3 separate regions of the Homo sapiens genome follow, and all the other regions are linked to region 2. The links are contacts of gene promoters, found by promoter capture Hi-C in human tissues and cell types (Jung and others, 2019). All regions are on one chromosome and are shown on one strand. Each heading gives the region's core, a stretch centred on a gene start or on the middle of the fragment in contact. The rest is flanking DNA. Distances are from core to core; before and after follow the strand shown. Region 1 overlaps TRIM16 (tripartite motif containing 16). Region 2 holds the start of ZSWIM7 (zinc finger SWIM-type containing 7). Region 3 overlaps TVP23C-CDRT4 (TVP23C-CDRT4 readthrough).

Region 1 (3,192 bases), core at 584-3,083, 330 kb before region 2:
TTTAATTTCTAGTGTTGGGGTCCTATAAAAACCGTGATACTGAATAAGCAAAGAATCCTAAGCCATGACTTCACTATACAGTTACTGTATTTCTAGGGTTTTGTTTTTGTCAGTGTGCATCATCTGATATCAATAATATACAAATGAATATTGTCTAATGTCTTCCCACTTTCACTATAGTCACATTTATTCCAGGACTAATATATGAAGCTGATTAAGGTTACGTGGAGTTTTTTTGGACTTGGATTAATCTGAAGTGCTTCTTTATTCACCGTGTTGCTGTATCCTAGCAATCTTCCTACTAGGATAAATTGGCATATCTTCTGATACAGTCAACTTTGGCAAACCAAGGAAAAACACTCAGGAAGAGGAATAAACTAGCACACGAATGAACTGACTGGGCCTCTAGATTCACTGAAGTCGTGCTCTTACACAAGGTTACTTCTGTAGTCAGCATGTAAGATGAAAACAGGGCAATACCAATATTGTCTTTATAAATCCTTGAATTTGCCCATAAAATACACCTAGTTTTGTGTATAGCTCTGATAATAACTCATGAATAGATAAATATAGAATTTTATATAGGTGTGCAAAACATAATTTTATAGTATTCTTAATTACACTAATTTATCTTTTGGTTTGGGGGGATATCTTGGTGCATATGGGTGAATTCTTGTTAAGTAAAATATAAGTATGAGATGATTTTTCCTGAGATGTTTATCTCAAGCCACTGTATTTTGCATAGATGACTCTTGGCAAAACATACCCAGCAGTCATCAAATATACGATATATATCTAACAGGTCAAAGTTCCTAGAAGAATGACTTTTCATTGAAAAACTCTATTTCACGTGATTTTTTTAACCGTATGCAAGTATTATTTTGTGTAAAATCAGCAACGAAAGCCCTAAACAAAGATAGGTTTCCCTCATCATGATGATAATGATGTTAAAATCATGATCCCTGATGATGTTAAGATTGAGAATAAGGCCGGATATTAGTATCAAACCAAAATTGTCATGTTTCATAGGCATATGTGAGTGATATAAATAGTAAGTAAGCAGCACTGGTATTCAGAGGAGGAGATTATTTTCAGTTACAGTGGCCAAGAGGTGAGGGTGGAGGTAATACCTTAAGCTGGGTCCTAAAGGAGACTAACTTGCAAAATGAAAAGAGTGATAACGTGACAACTGCCTCTTAACTTAAAGAAAACCTAAAAAGTATTAATGCCTCCTCCGAAAAGACAGAAAGCCCTACTTTAATCACTAAATATCTCTTCCTGCAATCCTCAAATCAAGCCTGGGGTCACCCTAGTTAGTTTATCACAACAGTGCAAATTATTCAGGATAATTTGCTTGGAGGAATTAATTTAACATATAAATTAATTTTCCCTTCATTGGACACATATCAGCCAAGCATACAGGCAATTTTAACATATAAGTTAGAAAATTAGACACTCATGATTTAAAAACTAAAGAATCCAGATTACCTACCAAAAAGAGATCAAAATATCAGAACATTTACTATCTAAAGCCCCAAATCAAACCCCCACCCCAGACTTTACCACAACCAAACAAACACACTGAGCTTTAGCTTAGGTTGTAAAAGGAGAGGAATTATATTCTCCATCATGAAGGGTAAGTGTGGTCTACACTACAGCCCACGAAAGAGAACCCTGTTATAGAAATATCCAAATGCTGGGCGTGGCGGCTCATGCCAGTAATGCCAGCACTTCAGGAAGCTAAGGTGGGCAGACTGCTTGAGCTCAAGAGTTCAAGACCAGTCTGGGCTATATGGCAAAACACCATCTACAAAAAATACAAACAAATTAGCCGGGTGTGGTGACGCTTGCCTGTGGTCCCAGCTACTCGGGAGGCTGAGGTGGGAGGATCAAGGATCCTGAGAGTTCAAGGCTGCAGTGAGCTGTGATGGCGTCACTGCACTCCAGCCCAGGCAATAGAGCAAAACCCTGTCTCAAACAAACAAACAAACAAACTAATCTGAGAGGAGAGCACAAGCATAGACCATACTACTAACAGTACAGTCAGAGTAAACTGAAACAAAACAAAAAAGGCTCTGTAAGTCCCAGAGTCATAATATTTCTAGAACTGTTCTGATTTCAAATATTTCATCACTATAATGTCCTCAAAATTTTAATATTTCTGGATCCAAATTATATTTAGGCTACAAGAGAATTATACCAATTCACTATAGTACAATCCACGAATTCATGCAATCCACCCATTCTAGGACAGACCTTTTGTTCAAGGACATCTGTCTTCAGTCTTTAGTTCTAAAATAAATTACCAAAGATGAGGACTCTGAAGGAACAACAATGGTTTCTACCAATCCAAAGCCAACTGGCTCCAGGAACTATGTTTGGAAATGACCTTGTTACCAATTGTTAACAAACATTACTTTAAGAAGTCTTATTCTAATGACAGACACTCTTATAGACGACCCTCCCCACCCCTTTTCAATTTCTTAAAGTTACGAAGGATTTTGGGCATTTCAAAAATTATTTCCAGATATCACCGTTTATTCAGAGTGGTCTGTCTCACCGCTAATTTTCAGAACAAAAATCCTTTCTTCTCTAACTTCAGTTGTGCCTTCTGTAATTCAAGCCCTGTTAAATTTCAAGCTGTACTAACACCGACTTCTTTAAACAGAAGAGAAGGATAGGAAAGCAGGTGAGGAGAGAGAGTTCAGAATAGCCCTTTTAGTGAGAAAAATAGAAAGCAGGGAAATCTCAGGTTCTGGCTAGTACACTGGGAATGATATGGGAAAGTCAAGGGACTCCAATCCTATACAATTGGATTACTCTCAGGTAACTGAAATGCATCTAAAACAGGAAGAAAAAAAAAAGGCAGGGAAAATAATTCATGGAAACCAAAAAAGTTACTCTAACATCAATTTAAGCTTAGGAAGATTTGAAAGAAAAAAAAAAGTTTGCATGTAAGTGTTGAGTCACAGCATAACCAAAAAATAATGCCTGGCTTTATTAGGTACACATAAAATTTCTTAGAGCCATATACAGAAATTTTCATCAGGCAGCCTCAAGTAACTTAATCTGGTGATAGTCTGATACAAATTCATATGACCATTTTTTTAAAAATGTTTTCTAAAAGTGTTGACTCAATCTTCCCTAACTCTTCTGTTGGGATTGCATAATAGTTACTATGTAAGGCTGACA
Region 2 (3,241 bases), core at 258-2,757:
TTCCAAACCCTCAGGCCATCAAATCTGAGAGCCCAGAACAATTGTATAAGCTAACATCAGTTGGCTTTTTTCCCATCCTTTTTGGAAACAAGTATGTTTGAATACTTGGCTGCACTAATCTTTCAAGCACATATACTTAAGTCTCCTTAATTTTGACTGAGATGAGGAAACAAAGTTGGCTTATTTTTCTCAGTTCCTTAAAAACAGTAACTCAAGATAAACCCTTTCAAAATGCAGTACAGTACTTTTAAAACAAAAGCCATCCAAGTTGAATAAGCGATGGCAGTTTGGGGGCCTGATATGGCTGTTATTTATAAGGTGGCCATTTTTACATCCTAAGAGTAGTTCATTAGTCAATGCATTTTGAGTATATCAAATTTGATTTGATCTTATCCTAGCATACTCTGAACACATCTTGAGATCAACCCTTCTCAAGTGATTTTGGTGAGCATAGCCAAAGAGTACCCTCTGCTGGTCAGAAAAAAAATGGTGCTTTCACAATACCCAGATTTACTCCAACGATTGCATATGCATTTAGGTTTTGTGGCTCTTAAAATGCTTTTTTTTTTTTTTTTGAGATGGAATTTCGCTCTTGTTGCCCAGGCTGGAGTGCAATGGCGCGATCTCGGCTCACGGCAACCTCCGCCTCCCGGGTTCAAGCGATTCTCCTGCCTCAGCCTCCTGAGTAGCTGGAATTACAGGCGCCCGCCACCACGCCCAGCTAATTTTTTGTATTTTTAGTAGAGACGAAGTTTCACCATGTTGGCCAGGCTGGTCTCGAACTCCTGACCTTAGGTAATCCAACTGCCTCGGCCTCCCAAAGTGCTGGGATTACGGGAGTGAGCCACTGCGCTGGGCCTACTTTTTAAAGTGTATGGAAGCATTAACTTTAATGTTAACATCAGAATTTGAGAAAAAGAAGTTTAATAATTCAAAATTTCGTGTAAAATAATCAAGAACTCCACGTTTCTATCACTCACTGTAGGCTCCCGTCCCTTCCACCCCCGGGCGGGGACCCCTCCCAGCGACCCGGCCAGCTCTCAGCACTTCGGTCCCCACTGGCCTACTCGCTCCGACGGAGGGGCTCCTGCAACTGCGCTGTACCGTAAATATTTGCTGAATCGATTTGACTTTTACTTGTTCCAATTTCGCTTTTTTGTTGTTTTGTTTTTTTGTCTTTTTACGAACAAGAGGTTTAGAGAACCACATGGAAAAAAGGCAGGGCCAGGCCCGGACACCCCGCCTCCTGCCTCCCGGCCCGGCGGTGCCCGGATGCCCCGCCCGCGCCCATGGCGCAGCCACACACGACCTCGGTCCCGTACTTCGCGCGCTCTCCTGCACCGCCGCCGCCATCTCGCTCAGGAGCTCCTCCACAACCGCCGGCAACACTACGGCCATCGCGCCGCAGGACACGCCCTCCACGACCGGCGGACCGCCGCGACGCTCCAGCTGACTGCGCCTACCTGTGGAGGATCCTGACCCCCCGCCGGGGCAGGGCGAGACGGAGTGACGTCGGGGCGCGTCATCGCGCGTGCGGACGCAGGGATGTCCTGCTCAGTCGTCAGGGCCCGGCCAATCCGGAGGGCGCTCGGCGCGTGGTCGGGGGCCAGGAGCGCGTCTGGCCTGCAGTGCGCAGAGGACGCGGCGGGAGCATGTTCCGGCTCCTGAGCTGGAGCCTGGGCCGAGGCTTCCTGCGGGCCGCGGGGCGGCGGTGCCGGGGCTGCTCCGCGCGCCTGCTCCCGGGGCTGGCAGGAGGTCCGGGGCCCGAGGTGCAGGTGCCGCCATCCCGAGTCGCGCCGCACGGCCGGGGCCCAGGCCTGCTGCCGCTGCTGGCAGGTGAGGGGCGCGGGCCGGGCGGGGCCGGCCGGGCGGGGACAGGGGCGCGGGCCGGGCCCGATGACCTCAGAGCCCCTTCCCGCAGCGCTCGCCTGGTTCTCGAGGCCCGCTGCGGCAGAGGAGGAGGAGCAGCAGGGAGCCGACGGGGCCGCTGCCGAGGACGGGGCGGACGAGGCCGAGGCAGAGATCATCCAGCTGCTGAAGCGAGCCAAGGTGAGGCGGCTCCGGGCCCTGCGCCCGGCCGAGCGCGGTAGCCTTTGTGAGCGGGGTCTTGGCGTTGCTGCGCATTACTCTCTCCGCCTCGCCGAAGAGTGGATGGAGGCTCCGCGGGTAAAATTGCCGAGAATGAGGTGGGTCATCCGAGAGGGGATTGGAATCCATCCAGGCTTTTCCGACTCTAAGGCCTGCAGTAAAACCTCTGCAGTGTCAAGTGCAAATGGAGATGGCGCCCTAGGCATCACGCTTTATGCAAACGAAATATCGGGAACGTTTTGTAGTGGTTTTATCAATTAACCAGCCTATCTGAAATGACATAATTTCGCACGTATATAGCGGCCTGAAAATGGCAACTTAGTGTTGGTTATGCGGTTCGGTTCTCCTCCTGAATTCTTCCTTTTCTCCACATCCTTTTCTATTTTTTTTTCCTCCTCTTTTCCCAAGTTATCTCATCTCTTCCATTGAGCTAAATACCTACTCGATGCCAACAACGTCCAAATTTGTATTTCCATTCTGTAGTGTGCTACTGACATGCCATTTGCACTTTAGGACCATACCTACCTCTCAGATTTAACATGCCCAAAACTAAACGATCTTTAATGCCTCCTCAACATACGCTTTCGCCATCTCTTTACTACCATCAGTTTTTCAGCCTAAAAACCTCATAGTCATTCTTAAAACTTGTGGTACCTTACCATTGCCTTCCAATACACTTACAGTCCAGCAACAAGTCCTGTTGCCAACAAATGCAAAATATTTCTCAAATCTTTCCCCTTTTGTCTATCTCCCTTGCTGTCACCCTAGTGCAAACCATCATTGCCACCAACTATGCTCCAGTAGTCTTTCCTGGCCTCCTGGCCTCTTGCAATCTATTCTCCATGCAGAAACCAAAGCGACCAAAAAAAAAAAGAGTAAATTGGATTATGTCATCTCCTTGTCAGAAAGCTCTGAATGGCTACCCACTGCATTTATGATAAAATACAAACTCCTTGCCTTGGCTTGCAACACCCCACATGATCTAAACCAGCATATACCTTGCCCACCCATTTGGCAGTAATCCTCTGGCTCACCATCCTCCCTTCACATCTATTTCTTTGCATTTCTTCCTCAAAACCATTCTCTTCAGCTTGTAGGGACTTCACTCATTCTCTACCCTCTGTTTGAGTCATTGTTCTCCCCAGGTCCTTAT
Region 3 (3,389 bases), core at 215-2,714, 450 kb before region 2:
TATGTGAAAACTTATTCATGAGTTTATGAAAGGGGCCCATGGCATAAAAAGATTAGGAATCCCTGTATGAAGGTGATGTGGGAGGAAGAAGAGCATTCCAGATAGAGCAGCAGGCACTGATGCCCTAATGAAGAAAGTACAATCTATGGATTTATGGGACTTGGTCATTAATTGGATATGGAGTAGGAAGGAGGCAACTGATACATTTACGGTTTGCTCAAGTAAAAAAATAGTGATTCCAGGCCCCACGAAAGGGAACACTCAAAGAAGAAGAGCTTTTGGGGAGTGGAAGATGACAAGTAGTATTTTACACATGTTAAGATATAAGATGCCTGGCCAGGCATGGTGGCTCACTTGGGTTCAAGACCAGCCTGGCTAACATAGTGAAACCCTGCCTCTACTAAAAATACAAAAATTCGCTAGGGATGGTGGTGCATGCCTGTAGTCTCAGCTATCTAGGAGGGTGAGGCAGGAGAATCACTTGAACCCCGGGAGGCAGAGGTTGCAGTGAGCCAAGATCACACCACTGCATTCCAGCTTGCGTGACAAAGCAAGATTTTGTCTCAAAAAAAAAAAAAAGATTTGAGATGCCTTCAAGACAGCCACATAAAAACGTCAAGAAGACACATGGAGAGGCCTTAAGTTGTGAGGACAAACCTGAATGGAGATACAGATCTGGGAGGCAACACAGCTTACAGATCAGCAATTCAAACCAGAAGCACAGACAGCACTCCTTAGGAAGGGAATACAGGAGAAGAAAAGGAAGAGTCTTATGAGACCAAAATTCCTATGGGAGAGATGCTAAGTAAAAAAAAAAAAGAGCTGGCAAGGGAGACCTAAACCAGAGGTCTCTTCTATAGGTATTTTCAAAGAATGCTCTCAGAATACTTTCAAACTCTTCTGTTTCCATTTTCTAACTCTTTATTTCCTGCTTTTATCTTTATTAGTTTATTTTCCTGATTTCTCACACTTATTGCTTGTTTTTGAAATTTCTGGACTCAAGTAGTCCATTATTTTCCCTCTTTCTTGTCTAAAATAAAAGGCTTTAGTCTATTATTTTCCCTCTGAATTCAGTTTTTGACATATTCAGAAAGTTTAACTGTAAATGATCACCATTAAGGTATAAATAACTTATATTTACAGTTTTTGCTTCCTTTTAAACCCAAGATATGTAGTAGTTCGCTTTTTTAAAAGAATTCCAATTTCAACAACTACTTTCTATTAATTTCTAGTTCTGTTTCTTTGGAGTAGAAAATGTAGGTGCTTTGGGCAATTTTATTTTGATTTTCTTCACAGTGATATTTAGTCAATTTTTGTAAATGTTCCACAGGCATTTAACAAGAAAGTATTCTCTCTGTCATACAAAGTCCCAAATACTGCTATCAAATTGATGTTGCCAATTATTTCATTCAGATCCTTCAGAACTTATTTATTTTTTGGCACTTTGGTTTGTTTAAGATAGTAGTTTGTTAAACTCATCATAATGCTTTTCTATTTTCTAATATTTCCAATTTTTTTACTATACATAGTTTGATATAATTTTACTCTGTGAATGATCTTCACTGTGATTCATAAAATCACCTTTTTTTGTTCCTCTTAGTGCTTTCTTACTCTGATCCATATCTCATCTGATAATAATACAATGCCAAGTTTCTTTTTGTTTGAGTTGATCTTTGCCTTCTTTTATTTTTGCCTGATGTTATCTTTGCCTTCTTTTGTTTTTTCTAATGTCATTAATTTGGTTAGATCTTTTGTTTGGACTTTGATTTCTGACCAATCTTAGTATTCTTGTCTTTAAATGGGTAGTTTAATCAAATTACATTTCCTATTATAATGAATTTGCTATTACTTACATCACTTTATACATGTACTCTCTGATTTAAGCTTCCTTGACAGTTGCTTTGTTTTCCTTCTTTTGCTCTATGAACTGTTTTACTTGCTCCATCTTCTCCAATGTTGCAGAAGATACACGACTGGTTTTAAATTTTACTAATAGTTGCCATTATTGTTTTTTTTTTTTGAGATGGAGTCTTGCTCTGTTGCCCAGGCTAGAGTGCAGTGGCGCGATCTCGGCTCACTGCCAAGCTCCGCCTCCTGCCTCAGCCTCCTGAATAGCTGGGACTACAGGCGCCTGCCACCATGCCCGGCTCATTTTTTTTTTTTTTTTTTTTTTAGCAGAGATGGGGTTTCACCATGTTAGCCAGGATGGTCTCGATCTCCTGACCTCATGATCCACCCGCCTCAGCCTCCCAAAGTGCTGGGATTATAGGCATGAGCCACCGCGCCCAGCCATAGTTGCCATTAAATTTTTAAAGCCATTATTTAACCTTTTTTACTCAATTTGTCAGAGTGAAGAATAAAATAAAAACCAATATAAGCTTTAGCATTTAAGCATACCTTTAAATTATTTTCCCTTCTCTACCTCTTCTTTATCTTCATTAACATCACCTAGGGCAAGCCTATCCAACCCTCTGCCCACAGGCCTCATGCTGCCCAGGACAGCTTTGAATGCGGCCCAAGAGAAATTCGTAAACTTTCTTAAAACATTATGAGATTTTTTTGTGTGCGATTTTTTTTTTAAGCTCATCAGCTAATGTTAGTGTATTTTATGTGTGGCCCAAGATAATTCTTTCTTCCACTGTGGCCCAGGGAAACCAAAAGATTGGACACCCAGGGGTTTAGATGAAGATTGATTTTTTGTTTTTTTAGTAAGTACATTGAGATTTATAACAATTACGACACATCTCCATTTTAACTGTTTCAGAACCCTGCTTATCCCAAGTCCACTTAATAATTTCCCTATTCTTGACTTCTTAATTTTGCTTCATATCTCCATTGTTTTGCTATCTATAAGTAATTTTGCCAAGGATAAAAGGGTGCCATTTTTTAAGCTCTTGTTTAAAAACAAAAATAAACAAACAAATAAACCTTATCAGAAAATAAACTATTTTGATCGCATTTTTTAAAACTCTAAACCCAGAAAAATTTTAAGAATTTGGAAATTACCAGGAAGAACTGACTGGAAAGCATGTTCTATTTGGCTAAACAGAAATTTTATGAACAACAAAAAGAAACGTGTATCAAAACTGTGAGCAGTATGTACTAAATACTTTGGAGCATAAAGTAACAGAAGAAATTCAAAGAAATGCAAGCCAAAGAAGACTGGACAAAAGAAAAACCTAAAGAAAACAGACCTTTGAAATCTTCCTTCTCAGCATTATGCGGCCTACGGAAACTGGCCATCACCAAGCCAACCACTTCAGATATCTTTAAGAATTAAAAGATGGCCAGGCGCAGTGGCTCACGCCTGTAATCCCAGCACTTTGGGAGGCTGAGGCGGGCAGATCACTTGACGTCAGAAGTTCGAGACCAGCCTGACCAACATGGAG

What was found. Contacts are between HindIII fragments. The study calls those that stand out against the background at their distance.
Region 1: a fragment that was not itself captured here is called in contact with the fragment with the promoter of ZSWIM7 in region 2 in 1 of the 25 tissues and cell types used here (stomach).
Region 3: a fragment that was not itself captured here is called in contact with the fragment with the promoter of ZSWIM7 in region 2 in 1 of the 25 tissues and cell types used here (heart right ventricle).

What each region holds. Positions count from the first base shown.
Region 1 is chr17:15,670,758-15,673,949 of GRCh38, forward strand. The region is part of intron 6 of TRIM16 (tripartite motif containing 16); the gene reads right to left. Among named protein-coding and RNA genes, the nearest start is that of TRIM16, 12 kb to the right of the region's middle. The HindIII fragment of the contact is 3,095 bases long and covers 287-3,192 here.
Region 2 is chr17:15,998,197-16,001,437 of GRCh38, forward strand. It overlaps ZSWIM7 (zinc finger SWIM-type containing 7), which reads right to left and starts at 1,508. Exons shown (of 5, transcript NM_001042697.2): 1 at 1,323-1,508. The coding sequence starts at 1,398. It overlaps TTC19 (tetratricopeptide repeat domain 19), which reads left to right and starts at 1,628. Exons shown (of 10, transcript NM_017775.4): 1 at 1,628-1,836; 2 at 1,922-2,049. The coding sequence starts at 1,653. RefSeq lists silencers at 1,082-1,241, 1,592-1,981 and an enhancer at 1,382-1,471. The HindIII fragment of the contact is 22,610 bases long and covers 1-3,241 here.
Region 3 is chr17:15,549,115-15,552,503 of GRCh38, forward strand. All of the region lies in intron 2 of TVP23C-CDRT4 (TVP23C-CDRT4 readthrough), which reads right to left. All of the region lies in intron 3 of TVP23C (trans-golgi network vesicle protein 23 homolog C), which reads right to left. Among named protein-coding and RNA genes, the nearest start is that of TVP23C, 13 kb to the right of the region's middle. The HindIII fragment of the contact is 3,548 bases long and covers 1-3,238 here.